Linked DNA regions of Homo sapiens: region 1 is linked to region 2. Evidence: promoter capture Hi-C in human tissues and cell types (Jung and others, 2019). All regions are on one chromosome and are shown on one strand. The core of a region is centred on a gene start or on the middle of the fragment in contact, and the rest is flanking DNA. Distances in the headings are between cores, read along the strand shown.

What was found. The method cuts DNA at HindIII sites, captures the fragments that hold promoters and counts their contacts. A contact is called where the count stands out against the background at its distance.
Region 1: a contact is called between the fragment with the promoter of TBKBP1 here and the fragment with the promoter of CDC27 in region 2, in 1 of the 25 tissues and cell types used here (dorsolateral prefrontal cortex).

Annotation. Positions count from the first base shown.
Region 1 is chr17:47,689,028-47,695,410 of GRCh38, reverse strand. TBKBP1 (TBK1 binding protein 1) reads right to left here and starts at 1,250. Exons shown (of 10, transcript NM_001394755.1): 1 at 1,217-1,250. RefSeq lists enhancers at 1-134, 135-814, 815-1,495 and silencers at 592-651, 902-1,031. The HindIII fragment of the contact is 16,798 bases long and covers 1-6,383 here.
Region 2 is chr17:47,183,543-47,190,745 of GRCh38, reverse strand. It overlaps CDC27 (cell division cycle 27), which reads left to right and starts at 1,451. Exons shown (of 19, transcript NM_001256.6): 1 at 1,451-1,600. The coding sequence starts at 1,574. It also overlaps a transcript of MYL4 not described here. RefSeq lists enhancers at 1,527-1,716, 1,247-1,843 and a silencer at 1,877-1,926. The HindIII fragment of the contact is 11,296 bases long and covers 1-5,679 here.

The sequences.
Region 1 (6,383 bases), core at 1-2,500, 500 kb before region 2:
CCAGGTGGAAGGGGACGCGAACGAATTCCCAAGGCTGTCTCAGGGTGCCCGCGCACCGGGAAATGGGGAACCCTACGAGGGGGCAGGAATGACTCAGGCTCCCGAAAGCAGGAGTAGGCAGTGAGGGGGTGCGTGTGTACTTCTCTCGGGCCTGGTTATGAATGTGTGTCTGGGGTTGGCGTATGGGGGGAGTGTGCGTCTGTGAATGAGTGTAGGTGTGTCAGTCAATGAGTGCCTTCGGGGTCGCAGGGGCGTCGGGACGGAGTGGGGCAGCGACCAGGAGGCTGGTGTGTGCACGCGTGCGTGAGCGCGTGGGCAGGGTGGCACGTCCGGGCCGCGTGTCACGTGAGACGCGAGGGGACTGTCCGAGGTGTGTGCGCGCGCTGGAGCGTTATGTGCACCCCGGAGAGGGGGCTCGGCAGGGAGCTGTGAGTTCAGACAGCGGGGCCCCCAGGTCGGGCTGCAGGAGCTTGGGGTGCAAAGGGCTCCGGCGCAGGCTCCAATTCAATCCACCCCCCCCCCTCCGCCACCCACAGGCCCATCTAAGTGCCAGGGAAACGCGAGTGACTGGGTCTGAGTAAGGAGTGTGTGCGCGCGTTTGTAGGGCCGGCCCCACCTTTAACCCTCTCCTTCCCACGCCATCCCCTCCCCCCAGCTCCGCGCGCCAGCGCTTACCACACCCCCCCAGACCCCCGCCCGCCCCTCTGCGCCCACCCCGCTGGCGGGGCTCTGTCCCCGAGGCCGCACCACAAATGCCTCCTTCCTCCGCATTCCTCTCTGGGCCCAGCGCCCGGGTGAGCGCAATGGAAGGCGGCTGGGGAAGGGGTGAGTGCCTCTGTCGGCCCGGGCCCCTCCTGCGGCCCCTTTAAGAGCCGCCCTTTAAACCCCTTTCGCTCGGCCGACAGAAATTGTCGCCCCTCCCCTCTCGGGGGCCGAGACCACGCAGCCCCCTCCCCCACAACCGGCCGAGCCCTGGGCCCCCGGACACCCTCTCGGGGCCGGGGAAGGGGCTCCGGGAGTGGCGCGGCCTGAGGAACGGCGGCGGAGGGGGACGCGAGGGGATGAGGGCGGCCGACACCGGACCCCTTCCCTCCCAGCCATCCCGTGCGGCTGCCAGCCGCCCTCCTGCCGCCTCCTCCTGCCCACCCCGCGACCCCTGGGGCCCAGCCCGGGCGCCGCTCCCCTCCCCCAGCCCTAGCCCCAGCCGGGGACTCACAGCTGCTGCCGGTTCCTGCTTGTAATCGCAGCTTACCCCCTCCGCCTGCTCCCTCCCCAAACGGGCACCAGTGCCCCCACCCCCCTGGTACCGCGCTCTGCTCCTCGCCCTGTCGCCGCCGCCGGGTCTCTCCCCACCCCCCACCCCTCCCCCCAACCCCCTCCCTCCCGTCCGCCCCGCTCCTCCTCCGCCGCCGCCGCCTCCTCCGCCTCCTCCTCCCCGGCTGCTCCGGGTTTCTCCAGCTGGGAAGGCGCCCCGGACCCCGCCGCTGCCACCACCACGTGGCGAGAGGCGGCGGCCCCTACGGTGCGGCCCTTCCTGGCAGCGCGCCCGGAGCCCACCGGCTCCCTGCGGCGCCAGCGGCCCGCGCTGGCGCCCCCTCCCCGACGCCTCCCGGCGCAGTGTGGCGTGGTGGCGTGTGTTGGGGGCGTCTGCGGTCAGTGCAGGGGCCCGGCTGATGCTTTGGTTGTTTTGGTTGTTTAGTTATGGGCTGTATATTTGGGGAGGAAGTGGGGCTATTTATCTGGCTTTTTTTTTTTTTTTTTGGTCTTTGCGCTTTTGAGAAGGAAATCATTAGACCTGCTCTTCGTTGCTCTTGGTAAAAGGGGCATTGCTGCGATAAATACATTGAACATAGGGTACAGAGAGATTAAAGCTGTAACTTCTTTGGAAGTGAGAGTAAACTAAGGAGGTCAAAGATTCATTCATGAAGAAGGACAGCCATCTCCCTCCCCACACACCACTCCCCGGCCACCCTCAAGTACCCACAGGTCAGGGAAATGAAGAAACAACAGATGTCACCCTGTGCACAAAGATTATTTGAGCACCTGCCAAACTGCTGGGCAAGAGAAACAAGTTTTTTGCTACTTTCCTGCTGTGTGACCTTGGGCAAGTTACCTTAACCTTTCTAAGCTGGAGATCATGCCCCACCTAAGCACTCTCATGGAGGAAGAATGGGGATCAGAACTAAATACAGCAGCCTGCGAATGCTCAGGAAGTGTTAACGATGTCATTTTGAGTATTGCCTGGTGGATTAAATAATGTGGACAGAGGCATGGTCAGCCTAGCTGCAGGTAGAGAATGATCAGGGGAACCCTGGAGCACTCTGGCTGAAGAGCATCCTCTGTGGACAGGGAGGCAAAGCCCGGAAGCAGGGGATAAGCTGGGCGGGGGCTTTTGGCAGATTCAGCCTTAGCTGCGAAGACTGCTGGGAACCTGAGCCTACCTTTTTGGCTCCTGAGGTGGGATGGGGGTGGGAATCTCCGAGGGGGAGGATGGAAGGAAAAGGTTTCTTGCTCTCTCTGAGCTTTGAAAAGCAGCAGCTGCCATCTTTCCTCACTGCTGGGAGAAAATTGGACTGAGAGGTGAGCTTCTACCAGGAGAGCCAGCCAGAGCTCTAGACTCATTCTCTTCATAGAAGGGGGGATTCTCAGTGGCTTCCTTCCTCCTCCTCCTGCTGGGTTCCCTTTCAGTCTTTCCTGCCAGCACTGGCTCCCGTTTGTAGTCCAGAACAGGAAGGCAGGTCAGCCACTTGTTCTCTGAGGCACTAGCTTTCTCTGAACCATGTGGGATGACCTATCTACCCTCTAGATATGAAGGCAAACCAGTGGGGACATCTGTCACCCCACTAATCCCAAGGGCTAGGCAGATGTTCCTTTCCCTAGTACTCCCCAAGATCTCTTCTGAAGCAAGGGACCAGGCAAAAGATTGGAGGCTAGACTAGGAGGTGTAGGGTTGTCTCTGGGACCCTCGGTGACCTTGGACTTGGCCACAAACAGGACCCATAAGACCAACTGGCAAGCCCTCCCTCACTGGAAAAAGGGGTCCCAGGACCCTCTAAGCACACACTGTCTGGGATGAGTCATCAGCCCCCTGCTGCTGCTTGGATGCTCAGGGCCTAATTGAGTCACCTGGCAGGGTGCAGCCAAATGCTTCTATCCTTGGTTCTAGGTGGTTGGTGGCAAAAGTCCATTAGGCCTGGTTTAGGTGCCCTAAAATCCTCCCCCTCCCCCAATCTGGACCTGATCTCATTGCATTCTCCATTTCTAGTTCTGCTGCTCATACCAGGCAGTTCTGAGAGCAGAGATTATATCCCATCCATCCTTGTATTCTAAGGTGCCCTGAGGGTTGGTACCTGCTCGTTGTATATTTATTCGGCAAAGATTTCTTGAACATCTATTATGTGCTGGGTGCTGAGAATACAGTGCTGAACATGTCTCTGACAGGTATACATGTCTCTTGCTCTCTTAGAGCTTGCAGTATGGTAGAGAAGTCAGAAAAATAAAAAGATGAATAAGTAAAACCACTAGAAATTGTGATAAAGGACCAGGCACAGTGGCTCATGCCTGTAATCCCAGCACTTTGTGGGGCTGAGGCAGGCAGATCACCTGAGGTCAGGACTTTGAGACCAGCCTGACCAACATGGTGAAACCCGTCTCTACTAAACATGCAAAAATTAGCCAGGCATGACGGTGGGTCCCTGTAATCCCAGCTACTCGGGAGGCTGAGGCAGAAGAATTGCTTGAACCCAGGAGGTAGAGGTTGCAGTGAACCGAGGTGACCCCATTGCACTCCAGCCTGGGTGACAAGAGCGAAACTCCGTCTCAAAAAAAAGAAAGAAGGAAAGAAGGAAGGAAGGAAATTGTGATAAAGGATAAAAAGAAACACCAAGGGGCAGTACTAGAGAAGAATGGGAGGATGGGATCTGCTTCACAGTATTCAGAGAAGGTCTCCTTGATGAGCTCTTACAATTTTTTTTTTTTAAAAGACAGGGTCTTTCTCTGGCGCCCAGGCTGGAGTGCAGTGGTGCAATTTTGGCTCACTGCAGCTTCGCCCTCCTGGGCTAAGGTGATCCTCCCACCTCAGTCTCCAGGCGTGGTGGCTTGCGCCTCAGCTGGGACTACAGGCGTATGCCACACGCCCGGCTAATTTTTGTATTTTTTGTAGAGACAAGGTTTCACCATGTAGCCCAGGCTGCTCTCAAAATCCTGGGTTCAAGCCATCCACCTGCCTCGGCCTCCCAAAGTGCTGTGATTACAGGCATGAGCCACCGCACCTGGCTAAGCTAAATCTTAAAAGAGTAAGAAAGTATGTTCTTTGTTGAATGAATAAATAAATGAGGCAGTGTGACTTAAGACTACTTCACTTTTCTAGGCCTGTTTCCTCATCTGAGAAAGCTGAACATTGGTCTGAATACCCTTTTTATTTTTATTTTTATTTTTTTATGAGACGGAGTCTCGCTCTGTCACCCAGGCTGGAGTGCAGTGGCGTGGTCTCCGCTCACTGCAAGCTCCGCCTCCCAGGTTCATGCCATTCTCCTGCCTCAGCCTCCTGAGTAGCTGGAACTACAGGCGCCCGCCACCACGCCCAGCTAATTTTTTGTATTTTTAGTAGAGATGGGGTCTCGATCTCCTGACCTCGTGATCCGCCTGCCTCGGCATTCCAAAGTGCTGGGATTACAGGCGTGAGACACCATGCCCAGCTGGTCTGAATCCCTTTTAAGAGCCCCTGGTATTGGCAGGGCTCATCATGGTGGAGACAATAATAGGGGAGATGGTGAAGGGGATAGGAGCCACAGTGGGAGGACAGTGGGGAAAGTGGTGGACAGTGGTCAGGCATGAGTTGTAAAACATTTCTAAATGGCCTTCACAGGTGTGATAACAGAGGACCCACCTCCAATCGTTAAGGTAGGAGAGACAGTGCAAATGCAGGCCCCCAGAGCCAGGCCCTGCCAGTGTTTCCTCCTTGGAAACCACCAGGGAGACTCTCCCACTCCCATGACTCTTGCTCTGGAGGCTGTCTTTCCTGTCCCATTATTGCCTGAAAAGAGTAGGAGGAGGTGACATTAGCAGCCAGTTAAAGAGGCTGAATCAAAATAAAACCCAGATGACTCAAATGGAACCCTGGCGGGCAGGAAAATTGATTAGCCCCATGTGACTGCAGGATCTAGGTGCCACCTTCGCCCTCCAGTTCCAGACCCTAGAAAGTGGGCCATTCACCATGCAAGCATCCTGGGACTCCAACTGCAGCTGCAGGTGTTCCATCAGATGGGAGGGTAGGGCAGTGGTAGAAAGACATTCCTTCACCACGTCCCCAAATTCCTGTGGAGGTAATGCAGAGCCCCTAATTGAATTAGTAGGGTTTGGGAAGGAATAGAGTGGTTTTTTTTTTTTTTTTTTTTGAGACGGAGTTTCACTCTTGTTGCCCTGGCTGGAGTGCAATGGCACCATCGCGGCTCACCGCAGCCTCCACCTCCCGGGTTCAAGCAATTCTCCTGCCTCAGTCTCCCGAGTAGCTGGGATTACAGGCATGTGCCACCATGCCTGGCTAATTTTGTATTTTTAGTAGAGATGGGGTTTCTCCATGTTGGTCAGGCTGGTCTCAAACTCCCAACCTCAGGTGATCCCCCACCTCAGCCTCCCAAAGTGCTGGGATTACAGGCATGAGCCACCACGCCCAGATGTTTTTTGTTTTTTATAATTCCATATGTGCTTCATTTTTCTCCACAGCCATGTTCATTTCTGCTATCTCCCAAACAGAATTTTTAAAAGGTTATATTGAGGTCAGGCGCGGTGGCTTACGCCTGTAATCCCAGCACTTTGGGAGGCCGAAGCGGGTGGATCACAAGGTCAGGAGATCGAAACCATCCTGGCTAACACGGTGAAACCCCGTCTCTACTAAAAATACAAAAAATTACCCGGGCGTGGTGGCGGGCGCCTGTAGTCCCAGCTACTCAGGAGGCTGAGGCAGGAGAATGGCGTGAACCCGGGAGGCGGAGCTTGCAGTGAGCCGAGATCGCGCCACTGCACTCCAGCCTGGGTGACAGAGCAAGACTCCGTCTCAAAAAAAAAAAAAAAAAAGTTATATTGAATTATTGAATATTGATTATTTATCCATCAGAATGTGAGCTCCACAGGAAGATTTTGTTTGCTTATTCACTGCTATATCCCCAGTGTCTCCTGGCACGTAAACAGTTGTTTGGTAAGTGCAGTAGCGCAATCACATCTCACTGCAGACTTGATCGCCTGGGCCCAAGTGATCCTCCTGCCTCATCCTCCCACCACACCTGGCTAATGTGTTTTTTTGTTTTTGTTTTTGAGATGGAGTTTCGCTCTTGTCGTCCAGGCTGGAGTACAATGGCGCGATCTCAGCTCACCGCAACCTCCAC
Region 2 (7,203 bases), core at 202-2,701:
GTGTAAAAGTCTGTTACCACTCAAGTCATCCAGCATAATCCCGCTAAAGCAACTGGGCACAGGGCAGCCAAAAATCATCTTAGCACCTGCCCTTTAGGGGCTATAAGTATATATACAGTGACAAGACAAGGCGGTGGAGAAGGATGCAGTGTAGCTCTGTCAGCCTTGTTTTTAAAAATGAAAGAAAAAATATCTCCCTCTAACATCACCCAAAGGGAAATTTCCAAGCAATGGAATATATCATGATTCTCACATCTAGCCTAGAGAGCTCCTGACTAGAAAAGTAACTTTCAAAAACTGTTTCCTCATCTGCTGAAAAACAAAATTTAAACAGTCCCCTGGTTCACTCTTTTTGGGGGGAGAAGGGGAGCAGAAAGGAAATATGAGAGAGTCTACATTGCATGCTAGACACGGCCACATTTATAATACATCGAATTCTCTTAATCCTTTTTTTTCAAACTAAGCGAACATAAGTTCAGAGAGGTAATTTGCCAAGGACCTATGACTAGTTAGTGCTAAAGATAAAATTCAAAACCAGGCCTCTGAATTTCCGACCCCCTACTCTTCCCACCACAGCGGAATGCCTCACCTATCAAAAATAAAAATTTCTAATGGCCTATTGAGCTTTTCCATGATCTCTTCACCTAAGTAACTATTTCCAATTAATGCCTTCTTAGCAGACTGATCCCATTTTTCCTCCCTTCACTTTCCTATACTTCTTTTTCCTCTAATTTTACCCATCCTTCAAACTCCATTTTAAACTTTTTTTTCCTTCCATAGAACTTTCCTTATCTTATCACAATTGCCCTCTCTGAATTTTTATATTACTTATAATAGGCACCATATAATATAGCGTTCTCTGTTACACTGCTTTTCCCTTAAATAGACCTTAATCTCCTTGAAGACAGAAGCTATCCTATGTCTTTGGGGAGTGGCAATCTTTCCAAATTTCTTTAGCTTTCCCCCAGAGCCGTGAGTAGATACTTCTGGAATGGACGAATGATCTAAACTCAATAGACAAATACTTGTTGATTCATTAAAGACAGCCCCAAACTCTGCTGTTTCACCCTTTGCTTCATAATCTACAGCACACCAATTAATCCAAAAGGGCTGAGGGGCTAATCCACACTGCAGCCCCGCCACGTAACGCTACCCGCCCGCGCTGTCACGCCACGCCCAGCCTGCTGGTTGCAGATTTGGCGTAGCCCAACCCTGGGACGGCCGATTGGGCGTGGTGTGCGTGGCTGAAGGCGTGGCTGAGAAGAGAAACCTACGCTTTGGGTCAGACTCGGTAGCTTCCGGTAATCTTCGACAATTTCCGGCAACGGTTTTCTCTCTCGTCGACCAACCTCGGGTATTTCCGACTCCCTTCGGGCTTTTCCGTCTGGTTCCCGCTCGGCTTTCTCCACTTCGGGTATTCCCGTGTCCCGCTCGGAAGCACTCGGCAATCGCTCGGCCTCCCCCATCCCCCGGTAACGGTCGCTGGTGAGTTTAAATGAGCAGGGGCTGGCCGGGCCGGAGCCGCTACAGGGGGGGCCTGAGGCACTGCAGAAAGTGGGCCTGAGCCTCGAGGATGACGGTGCTGCAGGAACCCGTCCAGGTAATGATAACCTTCTTCTCTGGGGCTTGGCTGGCAGCCTCGGTCGGGAAGCAGCAGCGTAGGGCCACTCCGCGGCCTGGTGCGGCCTAGGCCCGGCTGCTTCTCCCGCCTCCCCTGCTGCCGTGTCCTGCCTATCTTTAGTCAGTTCGGAGGCCTTGCCCACAGCCTAAGCCGTGTTACCTCTGGCCCTACATTACTTCACCCTTAGCGTGAGCGGCTTCGGCGAAAATAACCGCCTTTCCCGTCCGAGCCAACGTCCGGCCAGCCTTTCCTGTCAGTCCAGGGGCCTGGCTTGACTGGGGGTGGGAGATGAGGGGCCGAAAATGCACCCCAAGCGCTCTCTTGCCTAAAAGATGATCGAGAAGCACATTTGATCGGAGCTTGTGTGATCTTCGTGACGGTAGGGCAAGTTTACGGAGGTTTTTTTTATTTTGTCTTGTATGAGAGGGTGGAGGGAGCGTAGGATCGGTCTTTTTAATACTAATTTCTATTTTGGTAACAGACTTCCTATCCCACGTTTCCTTTCTCGGTGAATTTCCCACCGGACAATGATGGTTTGAGAAGACAACTCCAAGCCTCAGTGCTGAGGCGCAAGCACCAATACCAGGGGAGGAGGTGGAAAGGGCACATTTGGGTTGTTTTCATCCTCTCTGATGGGGATCAGGAGCATTTTGTTGTGCATGTTTATAAGGCATTCAGGAAATGAAACACAAATAATGGTGTTTCTGTCCATTTCACTGCCTTTACACCAGGGTATGCTTTGACGCACAGTGCTGTGTTGCATTAAAGGAACCCTATTGGATTTTAAGTGTGTGATGCGGTGCCAAGTCATTTTCCCCCCTGACATCTGGAGAAACTGTATCTTTTGTGCCTTGGTAATGGACCAGGTCTGGGAGACTTCATCCCACTATATGATCTTTAACTTGATCAGAATTGACCTCTATCAACTGCTGTCATTGAGTCATGGACTTTATTTTGAAGTTATAAAGCAAACTGATTTTTAGAAATTCCTTCATATTGCCCTTAAAAGGCTTGAGGTATCAAACAGTAAATATTTTAATATATCACTACTTTCATATTTATTTCATTTTTCTAAACAGCATGAAATACTCATTTCTTCTAGTTTGGTTTTTTTCTCCAGCTGTTTACATATAGCAGCTATTAGTGTTTGAATTAATAAAACGTAAGATTATATCTTATGAAATTTACCTGTCTGTAAGTTGTATTAGTTTTTCTAGAGCTATTTCCATCCAAATTCTTTTTACCAGTATAGTTTCTTTTAAGATTTTTTTTTATTCTGGCTGTAGATGAGGTAATTATATATATATAATTTTTTAAGGCCTAACATGAACTTAAATAGATAAGCAGATTACTCAAGTTATTTAATTTCTGTTGCATATTCTTATAATTTTGTTTTAATAGTTAATGATTTTTTTTTTTTTGCCTTCTCTGGCCCCAGAAGTCTTCTAAAGTGATAAACTAGTTGCATTGATAGACTATAACCACCATTTAATAATAATTTCAGACTTTATAAAAGCATGGAAGGCCGGGCGTGGTGGCTTACACCTGAAATCCCAGCACTTTGGGAGGCTGAGGCGGGTGGATCACCTGAGGTCAGGAGTTCGAGACCTGCCTGGCCAACACAGTGAAACCCTGTCTCTACTAAAAATATAAAAAATTAGCCAGGCGTGGTGGTGGGCGCCTGTAATCCCAGCTACTTGGGAGGCTGAGGCAGGAGAATTGCCTGAACCCAGGAGATGGAGTTTGCAGTGAGCCGACATGGTCCCGCTGCACTCCAGCCTGGGCGACAGAGTGAGACTCCATCTCAAAATAAATAAATAAATAAAAAATAAAAGCATGGAAAAGAAAAGGAATATGTAGCCTGTTTCTAGATAGTACCCATCAGGTTTCCTGTTTGTCCTTAAAGTACTCTGAGCAGTAATACACTTTGATATTTTTAAGGCTTAAATGTCAAATTTGCTTCTTTTTCATAGCAGCATTGTCCATTAGATTTTTGAGATAGTGGTAGAAAGTTTTAGGATATGACTAGGTGAAAATTTTGGTTGTATAGTATAAGAAGCCATTCAAGAATGGATTTGGAACAGTGAGAAGAACAAGCAACTTTGGCTACAATGATAAAGATCAATGATCAGGGATAGTGCTGCAAATGGGAAAGAATTAGGAAGAGAATAAAAATAGGACAGATATATAAGATACTGTCTTTATTAAAAAAAAAACTATGATGACAGATTGCGTGTATTTGGAAAGCAATGAGAGTAAGTTGGAAAATTGTTCTTTCTTGGAATGCCTCAGAGTTGATGGTATTACTAGGCATAGGAAAAAGTTCACAGAAAATATGAAGAACTGTTTTCTGCATTTTTTTTTCTTTAAAGTTTTAATGTAGAATGGCCAGTCCGATATACCATATATGCCTAAATTAAAACTCCGTCTCAAATTACTACCTCTCAGAAGAGTATTACTTTATATTTGAGTCCTTACAAAAGTCTCACATATGAGGCAGAATTTCTGTCAGTTCTTTTATTTTTAATGGTAACTATTTGGAAAGACACACTAGCCTAAGTGACTTCAGTGAGAGCTTTTTGAATATTTATAAAAGTCACCTGGTGAAATTGGTTTTTAAAAAAGAAGCAAAGAGATTTTATATAGATTTAGCAATTATTCCTAGGGGTAAGACTTCACAGAAGTGTTGGATGAAGTTGTAAATAAGCCTTTCGAAAATTAATTTAATAAGCAATATAGCAATTGGGTACTATATACATGATACTGTTTTAGAGATCATTAGATGGTGAAGGAGTACTCTTGGCTGGGGATAAAATGTTCAGGGACAGCATCTAACATGGATTCAAAGAGTAACATATTTTGGCTACTCAATGAGAAATTTAGATTTAATGTGCATTGGTAATGAATAACCATTATATGAGCAGAAGAGTTTTTGAGCAGAGGAATTATGTAATAAAAGCACCACTTTGGGAATATTTATCTGGTGCTGTTGGAAAGGGAGGAAGAGACAAGAGTTAGACATACAGACTAGTAGAATAATCCAACTGCATGATCATGTAGACCAGGGCTGCTTAATCTGAGCACTATTGACATTTGGGGCAAGCTAATACTTTGTTGGAAGCTGTGCATTGTAGAATGTTTTGTAGCATCCCTGGCTTCTAACCACTGGATGACCCCTCCATTTGTGACAACCAAAAATACCCTCTAGACATTGCTAAATGTTGGGGCATTAATTGGGAGTAAGAAGGCAAAATTGCCCAGAGTAAGAACCACTGACGTGCATCTAAACTAAATCAGTATCCTAGAAATTCAATTATAATGTATAATATGAAATTTCAACAGTGATTTTTTTCTTTGTATCTTCTTACATTGTCTGAAGCCTTTATTATCCATTTATTTTATGGTTTTTAAAAAAGGGCAGCTGACTGGGCACAGTGGCTCACGCTTGTAATCCCAGCACTTTCAGAGGCTGAGGCAGACAGATCACTTGAGCCAAGGAGTTCAAGACCAACAAATAAAATAAAATAAAGACAGCTTTTTTGACAAAAACAAGAACACAAAATGTATAAAAAATTTAACAAAAACAAGTAAACAAATTTTTTGTAATAAGCTTTCTCTAACAAAAAATTTATAATGATTACAGGCCGGGCGCGGTGCCTCACGCCTGTAATCCCAGCACTTTGGGGGGCTGAGGCAGGCGGATCACGAGGTCAGGAGATCGAGACCATCCTGGCCAACAGGGTGAAACCATTCCTTCTCTACTAAAAATACAAAAAAAATTAGCCGGGCATGGTGGCAGGCACCTGTAGTCCCAGCTACTCAGGAGGCTGAGGCAGGAGAATGGCGTGAACCCAGGAGGTGGAGCTTGCAGTGAGCCGAGATCGCGCCACTGCACTCCAGCCTGGGTGACAGAGTGAGACTCTGTCTCAAAAAAAAAGAGAAAAATTTATAGTGATTACATTTAAGTCTAAGTACAACTTATAGAGGTTTGTTTATATTTTAAATAATATTTTATATTTAAGAATAGCTAGCTGGTAAGGAATTTTGCAACTTTAAGCTGTTGGTTTATTTATCTTTTAAATTAGTGCACCTGGGGACTAACCCATTAATCAGTCAGATTTCTCTTAAACATTTTTTAGGGGAGAGGGAGAGGAGCGTTGTTCTTTTTGGCTTCATAACTTTCTTTTAGCAGCATTTCGTTCATCTGGCTTTAATTTGTAGAACTCTAGCGGTAATGCACTGGGTGTTCTTTTAAGGGAAGGCCCACACCATCAGTTGGGCAGAGGTGCTGATTTTAGCCCTGTTCATCATCAGCTACTAATCTGTAGTGCCTTAGAGAATAATCTGTTCTTCCCCCCAATCCCGGCACAAGAGACACTGTTAGTCAGGAACTTAGAATTGATTGAGCAAAGCGGGATGGAAGCAGTATGTGAGATTCTCGAGATGGCAAGTTTTTTCTGATGCTCTTAAGAACTGGTGATAAGGGAATGATGTTCTGAGCAAAGCTTGATTTTAAGTCAGAAATGGATACAACTCTTGAATATGATACCTTTTTTCCTTCTTTTTTCCCCCCGCCCTTGCCTCTTATTTCTTTAATTTTAAAAGGACAGAAAAAATTTCAAAGCTCTAGGACTTTTTGACTTTAGTATATGTGTGTGAAATTTTCCTAGTGGTCCATAGTAGTAAAATAGCTGGTAAATCATTTGAGTCTTTTGTGGCTTATATATTGCAAAATAAGCAGTTGTAGCAGGTATGCTGGGGAGATGTTATGCAACAGAAACTACATATTTATTGAATTTCTTTATATTAAGAGATTGGCAAGGAAAAGGTTTTCCAAGTGCTTAATGTATGATAGTATACTAGGAGCATTATAAATGGATCATTTCATTTAATCCACAAAACAACTCCAATAAATAAACTCCATTTATCAGATGAAGAGATTGAGGCTGAGAAAAGTTGAGTATTTCCCACAAAGTCCCACTACTGGAAGTGCTGGCACACAAATTTGAGCACGTCTCCAAACATCAAATCTTTGGTATCTTCATTCTACTCACCATTTTCTTTCACTTACAGCAAAATTAAACATGTAGGTTCTTAGGAAATCCCAGATTTCATAAAGGAGTAATTTGGTGGTAATTATTTGCATAATAAAATAATTCTTCTATTTATCACAGAGTTTCTTTCAATAGAGACTCCCAGAGATTCTTTATTATTAGATATACATCTAGGAATACAAAGAAACTTAATGCTAAGACTAACGTACAAGAGTGTCAACAGTGGAAGACTGCTAGAAATTAAAGATCATTTGCTTATTCATTCAACATATAAGCACCTGCTTTAAAAGCACATAATGGATACTGGGAGTATAATAATGAGCAAAAACAGACGTAGCCCCTACCTTGTGGAGTTTGTAATATAGTAAGGAAAACATCACTCAAATACTCTCCTAAATTAATACAGAATTATAGCAGTGGGAAGTATTACAAAGGAAAGGTACTTGGTGCAATTAGAGTGTATAATAATGGTGCCTAATCTCATCTTTTTCCTTGTATCTAGATAGGAATGGTAAAATTAGACATCTT